3 separate regions of the Homo sapiens genome follow, and all the other regions are linked to region 3. The links are contacts of gene promoters, found by promoter capture Hi-C in human tissues and cell types (Jung and others, 2019). All regions are on one chromosome and are shown on one strand. The core of a region is centred on a gene start or on the middle of the fragment in contact, and the rest is flanking DNA. Distances in the headings are between cores, read along the strand shown. Region 1 overlaps MAP2 (microtubule associated protein 2). Region 2 overlaps MAP2 (microtubule associated protein 2). Region 3 holds the start of UNC80 (unc-80 subunit of NALCN channel complex).

The links. Contacts are between HindIII fragments. The study calls those that stand out against the background at their distance.
Region 1: a fragment that was not itself captured here is called in contact with the fragment with the promoter of UNC80 in region 3 in 1 of the 25 tissues and cell types used here (dorsolateral prefrontal cortex).
Region 2: a fragment that was not itself captured here is called in contact with the fragment with the promoter of UNC80 in region 3 in 1 of the 25 tissues and cell types used here (hippocampus).

What each region holds. Positions count from the first base shown.
Region 1 is chr2:209,713,622-209,718,217 of GRCh38, reverse strand. The region is part of intron 13 of MAP2 (microtubule associated protein 2); the gene reads right to left. Among named protein-coding and RNA genes, the nearest start is that of UNC80, 56 kb to the left of the region's middle. The HindIII fragment of the contact is 6,443 bases long and covers 1-4,596 here.
Region 2 is chr2:209,732,630-209,737,186 of GRCh38, reverse strand. It overlaps MAP2 (microtubule associated protein 2), which reads right to left. Exons shown (of 16, transcript NM_001375505.1): 16 at 3,075-4,557. Among named protein-coding and RNA genes, the nearest start is that of UNC80, 37 kb to the left of the region's middle. The HindIII fragment of the contact is 5,614 bases long and covers 396-4,557 here.
Region 3 is chr2:209,768,926-209,773,370 of GRCh38, reverse strand. It overlaps UNC80 (unc-80 subunit of NALCN channel complex), which reads right to left and starts at 1,539. Exons shown (of 65, transcript NM_001371986.1): 1 at 1,207-1,539; 2 at 229-277. The coding sequence starts at 1,298. The HindIII fragment of the contact is 3,928 bases long and covers 1-2,932 here.

The sequences.
Region 1 (4,596 bases), core at 804-3,303, 56 kb after region 3:
AACCCAAAGTGGTAATTTTCTCATAATTTTTAAAAATTAGTATTTACTCAACCTAGCTCAAAACCTTTTCATTACTCCACAAAAGACATTTGATTTATAGTTACAAAATTCTATTGCATAAAGACAGAGTCCTGATCTTAAGTAGCTTTCACTCTGATATAATGATGACTTTGATATCAAAAAACAAAACAAAACAAACAAAAGCCTTGTAATAAATTTCTTCATGCTGTGTTGACCAACAGTATTTTTACAAGTTCGTAGGGTATTTTATGAGTCCTCTTATTTAGCCCTTATTGTAGCTCTAAGAAGATGTGAAGAAATGGCTTGGAAAAAAACTTAAAATTAAATAAGGGGAAGACATTAGAGGAGGACAAGAAACAAAACAAAAAACAAAAAACCTCCTTTTTGCCTAGATTGCAGAGACCATGCCTCATTGTCTCCCATTGCCCTTTTGTCATTTAATGCCCAGCAATCTTAGTAAATGTTTGATGAAAGAATAAATATGTGAATGAGAAAAAGATTCATTGCAATCTTTCTCTCTTCATCTTATATGTTATAAATATGCTTACATGTTAATAGCACCCAGTAGACCTTCATAGTGGTAACCATTATAATTTCATATAATGAGGGAAAATTCTGTTTCACTATAATTTATTAGTTGCTTCCAGAATTAATCCATTTTCTTAAATATAAAATTGAAGGTAAACTATGTAATTAGCATTTAAAGGGCCTACAAATAATCCGAGGGTAACAATATGATTTGGATTTGTGTCCCTGCCCAAATCTCAGGTTGAATTGGAGGAGGGACCTGGTGGGAGGAGATTGGAACATGGGGGCAGATTTCCCCCTTGCTGTTCTCAAGACGGTGAGTTCTCATGAGATCTGATGATTTAAAAGTGTGTGGAACTGCTTTCCCTTAAAGCAGGCACCTTCTTCACATGGTGGCAGGAGAGAGAGTGAAAGTTCCTATTCTGCCATGATTTTAAGTTTCCTCAGGCCTCTCAGTCATGCGCCCTGTTAAGCCTGTGGAACTGTGAGTCAATTAAACCTCTTTTCTTCATAAATTTCCCAGTCTTGGGTAGCTCTTTATAGCAATGTGAGAACAGACTAATACAGATAATGCCTAAAACTTTATAAGAATATATTTAAAAAGATTCCACCCTACATTTCACTAATTTTATTCCCTTCTTCCTCCCTCTCTATGTCTCCTTCTTCCCTTATGACACCTTTCTTCTATTTCAGAAACCTGCTCTTTTACTCAATTTCAGCTGGCCCTTGTGGCACAAACATATATGGAATCTATTAGAATACCTAAATGAATGTTTTTTGATGAACTGTAATGCATAACTACTATCATGCTCCAAGTAGTACCATGCATGTGAGAATTTAAAATGATTTAAGAGTCTATTTAAATGAAATGGTGCTATATACAAAAACAAGCATGATTTTGTTGCTTCCATTCTACAAATAAGGACAAAAAAAAAATCAGTACCTAAGGTAATGCAATACTTTAATAGAAGAGCTGGACCACTAACTCAGCTCTTAAATCCTAGTTCAATATTCTTTTAGATCAGGGTGTCCAATCTTTTGGCTTCCCTGGGCCACATTGGAAGAAAAAGAATGGTCTTGAGCCACACATAAAATACACTAAAACTAATCATAGCTGATGAGCTAAAAAAAATCACAAAAAATCTCAAAATGTTTTTAAAAAGTTTATGAATTTGTGTTGGGCCACATTCAAAGTCATCCTGCACCACATGTGGCCCCAAGGGCCATGGGTTGGACAAGCTTGTTTTAGACAAACATGGAAAGTTTCTTTGGATAATAACTGTCATGACATAAAACATTCATAATCATTCAACGGTGTCACTAAAAGAATGCATCTCTCCATGAATATGGCATAATACATTCATTCAATTTTCACTGCATATTTATTGAGCACCTACTATGTATGGGACATTATGGACAAAATGCACCTCATCTCTGACTTTATGGACCTTATGGTCTAGTAAGTGAAACAAGATAGACATTAAATTACTAATTATATAATGGAATATTTAATGAAAAATGTGGTGAGAAAGTTTGGTTACAGTATAGAGAGTACATCAGATAGAGCAAACAACAGATGTAGGGAAACCAAAAATTAATAACAATTGCGACAATATCAGCAAGAGATCATGTATCCTGCGCTAAGGTAGTGCAGAGCAGACTGAGTGAAATGGCCAGATTTAAGAGCTATTCAGGGCACAAAATCAGATGGTTAGGATATGGGATGAGAGAAAGTGAGAGGAAAAGTCAACACTTAGATTTTTGGTTTAGCAATATGAAAGTCCTGTTATTTGAATAGATGTAATAATACTAAAAATAATAATGTAATAATAGCATAAACTTTCTATACTCAAAGATGTATGTGGCATCAGTCACACTGATGTACTTGCTGTTCCTAGAACATGTTAGGCCTGCTTCTACCTCAGGGTCTTTGGATGTGTGGTTCCCTTTGCCTGAAAGGCTCATTACCTAGTTATCCAAATGGCTTACTTCTTTACTTCCTTGGAGCTTCTATTCAAATATCACCTTCTCGGGACTTTCCTAGCCATCTTATCAGAAATGCAATTTCCTCTTAACATATCCTGAGCCTCTTTCTTATCTTTATTTTTCTCCATACTTAGCACTTTTTTACATATTTTTCTTATATCACTTTTTTTTTTGCTCACCTTTCCTCCTAGAATGTAAATTCCATGATGGCAAGAATTTAAGAAATCTATGTCTATTTTGTTTGTTGTTATATTTCAGTATGTAGAACATAGCATGGTGTAGTAGGTGCTCAATAAATATTTGTTGACTCAATGGTCAAGTAAAGAAAGGTAAAACTTTGTATTTCTGGAATTATCAAAGTAATAGGAGACAACTCCCCATGTTATTTTTAAGATGCCAAGATTGATGCTATAATATTTCATAATTGATTCTTTATATTATCCTTAGAAATTAAAAAGCTAACTAGCTTCTATTTTAAAACCTTAATTTTTAGAATTATTTAAAAAATAACTGTCAATTATAGGAGAAAACAAAAAATATGATAAAATGCAACATACCTTTCCAAATTTAATGTAGTATATTAATATAACATGTATTTTAATAGTGTATCAATATAACATGCTATTTGCATTAAATTATTTCATGAAAATATAATAAAAGTTTAGAAGCTTCAAATTTCAATCCTGACGTGGTAAAAAAAACTTTGGCATGGAAAACACTGCTAAATAAAATTACCATTTATTTTCATGTTATGAAATGAAAGGTAAGGCAAACAAAGAAGACTAAGGTATACAAAATTACATACTTGCAGATAAGTGACTAATTATTCATTAAAGACAAAGTATAGACTCTGACTTCACAGCTCAGCCATGGAAGGATGATATTTAATGTCCTATATGCAAGATGCAGGTAATGTGAGAACTTCTGTTTCTTACTCTGTGAAAATGTGAGGGTTGGATTAGAAGGAGATGGATATCTCTGACATCTAATATCCTTTAGTTTAATAGATCCATATAGAACTGAGATATAGAAACTAAGATTGCTTTATTTCTAGAATGTAATGATATGTTTTACAGGTTCTAGTTTAATAGATTTATCTAAATAAAAATTTTACAAAGATGACAGACCAATGCTGATTGGGAAAGCAATATGCTGACAAATTTTACAAAGTTCTTTATTTAAAAAGTGAGTACTGTTTTTTCTTCAAAAAGGAGTGACTTGCATGATGATGCCACCATCTGTAGCCTAGCTAACCTGAAAATGACTGACTGTAGTCATTAATGGAGCAAAAGCACATAATTCAGAGGCAATCAATCAGATCCACAGACATGGCCTTGCAGAGATTATGCTCTAACTGACTATCCTATCCAATGAGCAGTTAATGAAAACAACATCTGTGAAACCACTTCTTTAGTAACTTTCAATTATTACAAGCGCATATAACTTGTGCTTTTAAAATTTTATTTATTTATTTATTTATTGAGACAGAGTTTCATTCTTGTTGCCCAGGTTGGAGTGCAATGGCGTGGTCTTGGCTCACTGCAACCTCTGCCTCCTGGGTTCAAGCAATTCTCCTGCCTCAGCCTCCCAAGTAGCTGGGATTACTGGTGCCCACCACCACGCCTGGCTATTTTCTTTTTTTTTTGTACTTTTAGTAGGGACGGGGTTTCACCATGTTGGCCAGGCTGGTCTCGAACTCCTGACCTCAGGTGATCCACCCGCTGCCTTGGCCTCCCAAAGTGCTGGGATTACAGGCATGAGCCACCACACCTGGCCAACTTGTGCTTTTTATACTCATCTTCATAAAGCCAATGGAGAAAAACAAGATATCTGTCAAAACATATAGGAGCATTCCATATAAATCCAAGTAACTATTTTAAAACCTGATTATTAGATAGAAAAGGCAAAAAGCACTATTCCTTGAGTTGTTACCTAAATTTTTTTATGCTACGTGTTTAGAGAAATTGCTTGTTTCTCTACCTTTGTTTAACTGAAGCAGCTGTGTTCTTCAAAAGCTAACATTATTTATTCTAAAACTTAGATTTAATGTAGATTGAGAGG
Region 2 (4,557 bases), core at 1,953-4,452, 38 kb after region 3:
CAACTACATGAGAGAGGTTCTTAGGGGATTAGCGACTGACAACAGGTGACCATATTCAAGGTATAATTACATGTGCACCAGGTATTTACCTACCAGCATGTCACTAAAGGCACTATCTCCTCTGGGGGGGTTCCAATCTCCTTCTGACTTGGTTGGGGGTGTGTAATGCAGGGATGGGGTAGGCAAATAAGAGCTGTGGCAGGCTGTCTGGCAGGAAAGCAGGCTGCTAGGTGCCAGTGTAGACCTTCTGTGCTGCCCATCTGGGCTTCTTGCAACAGTTTGTAAGGCACGAGCTAGTTCTCAGGAGCCTTTGGGGGACAGTAGCCATTGGTGATGCCTGGAAGCCAGGACTTTTGAGGGGACTAGAGCAGGATTTTGAAGGCCTTCTGCTGTCCGTTTGTATATGCTGGAATCAGAGGACATCTGTGGAGCACAGAAGAATAGGTTTGGGTGGCCAATGTGGGCATTGGTAAGGCGGAGGAGGCTTGGGCAGCAAGTCTTTCAATATTGTAACAACTTATTCAATTAAATAACATGTATATTGCCTGAAGATCAGCCTTGGGTTCAAGAACATTGGCTTGTCTAGGCTAGAGCGTTTCCTAGCTATGCCTTTCTTTGTTCCTAAAAGGAATAGGCAAGTATCCTATATGTTCAGTCCTACAGAGTAAGACAATAGTTTTTGTCATTTCTCACTTGACAATGAGATCTTTATCATAGGTGGCACGACAAGGAAACAAACTCCACTGCAGTTTTTTTTCCCTTGATTTAGCAATAAGTATAAGGGGTGTGCAGAAACTTAAATATGTTTATCATGGACATTAACAGTTGCTGCTATGAAATAAATGTGCTTCTTAAAGGTCTTTTTCCCCCTGCTTTTTTTTTTTTTTGAGACAGGACAAAAGCTATAAATATTGGTGTTCCCAGTTCTCTGTCACCCTGAGGATTCTAATCTAACCTCCCTAACTCCCTGGCTCTAGGATTAGGGGCTCTAGGATTTTGGACTTTTGTTTTATAGGATGAGGAAAATATTGGCGAGAAAGACAAGTGTGCCTAGGTCAAGGGTTACAAACTCTAAATCTGTAGTTTAATGCTTATCGTAATGAGTGAAAGCAGAGGGGTGGGAGAAAATAATAAGCCTAGCTGGGCATGGTGGCCAAGTCAAGGGAATAAACCCCATCTCAGAGGTACCCATGGACAGCTCTGGTCAATGGTCACCAAGAGCGAAGATCCAAATCTGGGATGTGTGTGTGTGCATGTGAAGTTTCTGAAATTTGAAAACAGTTTGCAGGCCAAATAAAGCCTATCTGGAGGCCACAGGTTTATTACCTCAACTGAGGCCTGGGACAGAGATTGTCTTGGAATTTAAGGGAGTAGAAGTGGAAACAGCTGAGGCATATTTGTGAGGGAAAGGCATGAGAGGTGGAAAAAGGGCTTTAAAGAGTGTGTCCATGATGCTGCTTTATCATGCTCAAGAAAGTCGAGTGAAGGGCTTAATATTTTGAAACAATTTTAGGTTGCTAGACTGTATACTTTTGACAATTTTCTAGCCCTAAATTCTTGAAGTCTCAGGTCTACAAGGAAGTGCCACATCATAAACAAGAAGAGGAACATTTATCTTTCTGTAAGTTACACTGAATGTTATCCTGTCATCCTCCATTATTTACGGTTGTCTCTTGTCAAGGCAAATAAACCTTTCCTTGCCTTGTTAACAAATAAAAAAGAAAATCAACAATTTTATGGTGATTCATGCTACTGGACAAATTTAATCCTCATGGTTTGAAGACTCTGAAGGACAACATGTGTGCTGATTTTAAGGAATTATTAGAGATACACTAATAATTCTTGCTAGGTTCTACAAAATCTGCATTATTAGCAAAAGGAGACTGAATGAGAAGTGATGCCATTAATAAGAGAAGTAGGTTTTAGCCAAGTTAAAATAGTCTGAGGGCTGGAAAACCTCTAATACACACATAAGTATTTCTTTTACCAGTCACAGCTTTCTATGCCTTGGTTCCTAGTTTGACATCAGAGGTAGGGATGCTGTCTCAAATAGTCTTTGGGATAACTTTTATCCATTAGAGACCTGCAACGGAGCTCTTTCTCCTTAAACACATTAGCAGGGACTGAATGAGCTTAGTGTTTCTCAAATTTTTGAGTGCAGATGAATCACCTGGAGGAATGTTAGTTAGTTAGTCTGGGGTGGAGTCCAGAAATTTGTATTTCTATCAAGCTCCCTGGTGAAGCCTGAGCATAATCTGAGCTGTAAGGAGCTAAAAGATGAACAGGGGTGCAGCTATACCACGTATTTGTTTTTGTGGCCTGTACAGTATCAATTCCTCTCTTCTGGCAGGAGTAGCCTGAATTAACTTTGGGGGAAACGTTTCCTCTCCACGATTAGCTCAGGTAGTATGGAGGAGAATAAAGCCACTTCTCCCCTTATTCTCCTTCTACTCCAACCACCTGTGACAGAGTTGGGTACGTGAGCCAATCCTGGTCAATTAGCATAAGTAGGCAGGAGATCCAAGTATTAATCGTTCAGTGATTTTCAGACCCTGGATTTGAGCTACTGTAAAGGGGCTTTCTTTGATAGGTTGTGAAATCTGGAGCTTCTGGTGCCCATCACGGAAGGGGTGCCTGCCTGAGAAGGAAGCCAACACAGAGGATGCAAAACTAAAAGTTGGAAAAGGGAAGATTCCTGATGACGTCGTTTGAGGGCCTGGACCCAGCCATGCCTGAGGCAGATACACCTGAGTAGTCAGTTACTTGAGCCTACAAATTCACCTTTACGTTTAAGCCCGTTTAATTAGAATTTTTGTCACTTGCAAAAGATAGCATCCTGCTAATACAGTAGTGATAAAAATAAATTTCCTTATTAATTGAGCTAATATAAAATCATTTAGTATAGAGCCTGACACATAATAGAAACTCAGCCATAATAATAGCCTTGTTTTCACAATTTTTCTTTGGTTGTATTACACACATGCACACACACACGCACTATATCACTATATATATATATAAAATTTTTTTTCCAGAGGAGAAGCAATTAAACAGTCTGAAACCAAAACTAGCAGTTAGGTGACAAGCAATTTTATTTTGCAAAACAATCACTATACAGCAACAAATACATTTGCAAATTTGATTGAAAAACATGAACTAACTACAACCAGCCATTGAAGAAATGCCTTTCTATGGTAACAGGCTCTAGAATTATCAGAAGAAAGAAACCCCCCACAGATTTGTAACAGTGTGTTGGAACCTCGGAATCCCAGCATACAGAGTATACTTTTTGTTGATTTTTTTTTCTTTTTGCTAAAGTTGAAGTAGATTTTTATGATTGACATTTTATTTTCTGAGTTTGAAAATAAGCTTTTTCCTGCAGAGAGTCTTGGCCTTCACCTACACACCCAAGCTAAAAATCCTAGGTGTAAAAAAACTCAAAACATCAATGCTTATTTTAGCACGTCAATCTTTGAAGGAATGCTTAAAATTTCCTTACCAAGCCATGAATCTACTTTATCTCTAGTATTTAGACCATGAGTAGTTTATTTTCCTTATTGTGGCTTGAAAAATAGAAGAAAACTGTAATTGCAGCTATGTCAAAATCAACCACATTCAGGTTATTTCCTTAATAAAATACTGATGGAATGTTATATATTGGCTGATTATTCCACGCTTGCTGTATTACTGTAGGTGTGTGTGTGTGTGTGTGTGTGTGTGTGTGTGGAGAAGGTCACTACAATCAGTACATTCTTCCATTTAATGGCATTCTCTCTTCAGCCTTCTCCAGCCGTACCTAGCTGGTGTTACACAGGTGTCATACTTGTAGGTGGGATGTCAGCCCATCACGCTGCTGGAACTCAGCAGGTAAATCCAGAGAGAGTTGGTTCCTAAATGAACGTGGCCTTTGAAACTCATCATGAACTCGGGTCTTTCCTGCATCATTATGAGGTATCCAATTTCTGGTTGCAAGTGACCCAGAGGTTGAGTTCACTGGAGAAGTTGGCCTTTAAACTCTTCACAGCTCTGGATTACTTACGTATTCTTATACAGGTTCTCAAAGGCTAAAGCCAGAGAGAAACTGGCATAGTAGATCTAGAATTGAGACCACGAAGATTTCATTCCTAGATCAGCGTATGTGTGTCCCCACAAGAGTGGTGCTCAAAAAGCTTAATTTGAGTCGTTATCTTGAGAGTGAAGGCAAGATAGGTTCTACCCCTTAACCCCACAAGAAGATATTTAACCTGTGTGTTTCTCTCTTTTACTGGTACAAACGATCAGTTCCTTTCTGTTAACTTTAATAAAGAATTGTATTTCCATACAAAGCAAGAACATTTATTCATTATAATTTTGTTGTGATTAGAAATAAACATTTGTTTTAATGCCAAATCTAGTAGTTTGGTGCCTTGTATAATCTTTATTTTTGACATGTATTTGTAATAAACTGACTTCTAGTATGCAGAATGTTTACCTAGTGTTAACTTATATAAAAACTTTAAAGAATGTTGAGAAAAATACTTATTTCACAGGTTAAAACTTTTCTAATGAGCTGTTAAC
Region 3 (4,445 bases), core at 290-2,789:
ACTTATTTGTTTGTGGCTTGTCCCCTTTCTACTAGGATGTAAACACTGTATTTGTTTTTATCATTGTTCTATTCCAGCACAGAGAATTGTGCCTGGCACAGAGTGGGTGATCAATAATATTTGCCAAGTGAATTAATATATATAGTCCGTTTGATTTAAAATCTGTCTTTGGGTTCAAACCACCACACAGAATAGGGAAATAATTATTAAATGGTGAAAATCACATACCACACAAGAAGCTTCATATTGCTTCCCCAGTTTGGGCCTCAAAAATGCACTGAAAAATTAATAGAGATATTTGTTAATAAACATAAGTAAAATTATTATTAAAGCATCCTTGTGACGTATTTTTCAATGAATAAGACAGGATGCTATGAAATTCAAATTTCATGCTTCCTTATAGCTTTTTAATGAGCAGGTGTTGAACAGCTGATGACATTTTCTTTTACACGTGTAATTGCATATATGAAAGAGAAGTGGATCTCGATGGTTTTCGGTATCCACTCTTAATCTGAAGACTTCTAAGATTTTAAATCGCCAGTGGTCAGAAGTGGTGCATTACTTACGTGTACAGTCATAATAAAAACTGAAAATTGAACACGGCTTATGGGTCATAATTTCCAGAATCTAATATCTTATCTGATAAATCTCTAAAATAACAATAATAAAGAAAACCTTTTCTGTTTATTGGAATAGGTGTCAGGCCTTTCCGGGGTTGTGGGGGAAGGTCCCTTATCACAAATCCTCAGGAGATTTAACTGGGGAGATTAATCTGAGCAAAACGGTTAACAAGTGGGCATAGCAGATATTCGCCAAACAGGAGCTGGAAAAACAACAGGTCACTGGGCTAGAATTACAGCAGGAGATGGAGGGGGAATTGGACGCAGGAGCACAACCAGTCATAATTATCTAGCTCCCCGCCCCCTCTTCCCAGGCTCTCTGCCCTCCCACCCCCTAAAATAATGTATACATTTATGCGACAACTGCCAATCTGCTTGTCGTCAAACTTCACTGAAATATATACATATATATACATATTTTAATGCGTGTTTTTAAGCTGGTGCAGAGGGCTTGTTTTCCAGCCCCAGAGAGGGAGCTGCAGGCTGTGGCGCGGCCTCAGCGGCGGCGGCGGCAGCGGCGACCCGGGCGGCCCCAGGAGCGCCCCCAGCCCAGGGCGGCCCGCGGTGCGCCCTCTGCGCCCCTCACCTGGTTTGCCGCCACAGGAAGGTCTGGATGGGCAGGGGGATGCCGCGGCCGCCGTCCTGCTCCTGGCCCTCGGAGCTCTTCCTCTTCACCATAATGGTGGCTCCCGGGAGTCCTACTGCAGGACCCAGCTCTGTCTCCTCGCTAGCCGCCGCCGCCGCCTCCTCCCGCTGCTCCCAACTCTCATCCCCTCCTTCCCCGAGGCAGAGCCGGCTCTCTCCGCCCTGATCCCCCGTGCCTCTCCCCTCCCCCCACCCCTCCCCGCGCGTGGAACATGGCTGCGGGAGGAGGGGAGGGCTGGAGGAGCCGCGGAGCGAGGAGGGGGGCGCTCGGAGCAGCGGTCCGCCTCGCCGCCCCCGCACCCGCTCCCTGCTTTCAGCACCTCCCACTGTGGACAGCGGCCCGCGCCGGGCTGCACGGCCGGAGAAGCGAATCCGGGGCAGCTTGAGCCGCAGGGGTACGGCCCAAGAAGTCCACGCTCCGCATCGCAGGCGCTCGTCCCCTGCGCGGCCTCTTCAGCCCCCGGAATTCGGCTTTCCCCGCTCCGAGCTGCACTCAGGAGTGTCCCCTGTCCTGCTTTCCAACCTCAGCATCCAAACTGTCGCCGTCTGGGTAGGAGGAGCTTTGGGGAACCGCAGAGCAGTCGCTAACCCTGGCATCATTCTCACCTCCAGCAAGGAGATCAGGAGTCCAGGGGTTAGCCGGAGGAACACATGAAAATTATTAGAAGTGTAAACCAGGAAGGTGAGGCAAGGTTGGCAAGTGAGAGGAAGCTTGAAAGATCTTAGATATGAGAAGTTATTTTTATATGATAACCACAAGAAATAAACCTTGTTTGTTTTCCTAAAGCAGGAATACAAAGTTCCCAAAGTAACCAGTTGTGGATATCAGTTAATTGCAAATTGAGGAAGAACATTTGAATCATGCTGTGAGGAAATGTGGTTTATTACAGTCCATTAAATGCACTTGGGTGATCCTGTTCGCCCCCAGTGATAGCTACCATTTTCCTTCAGTTGTAATAGTCAAATGCTTATATGTTACATATATTAATATTTTATAGTTGGATTGCTGTTAGATATATTATCTAGGAGTAAAACAAGTAGGCCGGGGAGGGGGGTGAGGTGGGGTGAAGCAATCGGAATAGTAACTACCTGCAATTCCTCCTCCTCCCCCTCCTCCTTCTCCTTCTTCCTCCTCCTCCTCCCCCTTCTCCTCCTCCTCCTCTTCTCCTCCTTCTCCTTCTTTCTTCTTTCTTGTTCTTTGACGGAATCTCGCTCTTCAACCAGGCTGGAGTGCAGACGTGTGATCACGACTCACTGCAGCCTTGACCTCCCAGGCTCAAGAGATCCTCTCAGCTCAGTCTCCCCAACAGTTGGGACTACAGGTGTGCACCACTACTCCCAGCTAATTTTTTATTTTTGTAGAGATGGGGGTCACACTATGTTTCCCAGGCTAGTCTCAAACTCCTGGGCTCAAGCAATCCTTTCACCTTGGCTTCTCAAAGTTCTGGGATTACAGGCATGAGCCACCATGCCTGGCCTCATCTTTTAGAGCAAAGATATTGGTGTAATCCATGAAATGAAGAATCAGACTCCAGGTCCTAATCTCAACAGATGTAATATTTCATATATAATTAACAGCATAGTATATATCAATATTTTTTGCCATAGAAATAAATTCTTCATTTACTTTCTTGAAGTTATCTTTTATTATGAATCTCAAAAATATGGATCTTATGATCTCAAATATGGATCTTGAAACAAAGAAAGATTCTAAGTACAGTTTACTCAAGGCATATTTATTGAGTGTATTTTATATACTCATAGCTCTATGGAGCTATATGGACTCTTGCTCACAAGGAAGTCTGAATATTAAGAGAAGACAGACATGAAAAGAGAAAAGAATCATGGGAGATACGAATGCAGATTCAGTTATGAACAAAAGGTCAAGGCAGAAATTATGTGTAGGAATCAGATGGAGACTTTGTATGACAGGCTAGAAAGTTTTCCTAGAAGGCCTTTAAGCAGAGAAGTAGAAACTTCATATCCATTTAAGTGTGAATGACATGACAGGAATGTAGGGATTATTTGAAACAGGCAAAAGTTGTATTAGGAACCCCAGTATGAAGATTAGAGAAATGTTTTATGAGATCCTGAACCCTGATCATAATAGCAGAACTACAGACAAGGGGGTGAGTTTGAATAATATTGCAGAGGTAGAATTAATAGGATATGATGACCAAGTGGGTATGGGAAAAGAAAAATAGCACATTGGTTAAGAGCTTAGGTCTTGAGCCAGACAGTTTTGGCTCTAGCCCTACCATTAACTAAATATAATATCCTAGAAAAGTGAAAAAACTGCTAAGATTTTCAAAGAATACCTTCCCCTATAGAGATGTTGTGAGGATTGAATGTTAATACTTGTAAATGAAGAGGACACATGGACACATACAAGGGAACAACACACACTGGTGTCTTTCAAAGGGTGGAGGCTGGGAGTAGGGAGAGGATCAGGAAAAATAACTAATGGGTACTAGGCTTAATACCTGAGGGATGACATACATAAATCCATACAACAAACCCCCATGATACAAGTTTACCTATGTAACAAACCTGCACATGCACCCCTGAACTTAAAATAAAAATTTAAAAAAAGAATTTAAGGGAGTCTCAGATCTATACTAAGCTTTCAATAAATGTCAGCAAAAGCTCCAAGTTTTCTGTTTTGGGCAACTGAGTAAGTGGTGATCTCATTCAAAGAAAAGGAGTTGACAAAAAGAATCGTGTTCTTATTTTATGTGCGCGTACGATGGCATTCATGAGTTTTCCTTGAGTCTTTTTTGGAAATATGAAATGGAGGTAGCTAGAAATATTTGTGTGCAGTTTAGAAGAGTTAATTGGGTAGAAGAGATTGATTTTGTAGTTAACACTGTATAAAAAGTAGTTGAAACCTTGGAAGTAGATAATCCAGACAAATAAATGGAAAGAGAAAAGAAAGGCCCCATTTTGGAAGTGTAGGGGACATCAACTTTATTGTCACAAAAAATGCTGTTGATGGGTGACAGGATAGAATAAGATAGTGGGATAGGCTGAATTCTAAGACGGCCCCCAAGATTCCCATGTCCTGTTATATGCACACACCTTCCTCCAATTACTCAAGCAAATACTAATCTAGGTGCTGCTGTGAAATGATATATATGAATCTTCTTGAGTTTTTAAAAATTATTATTAATAGACTTTATT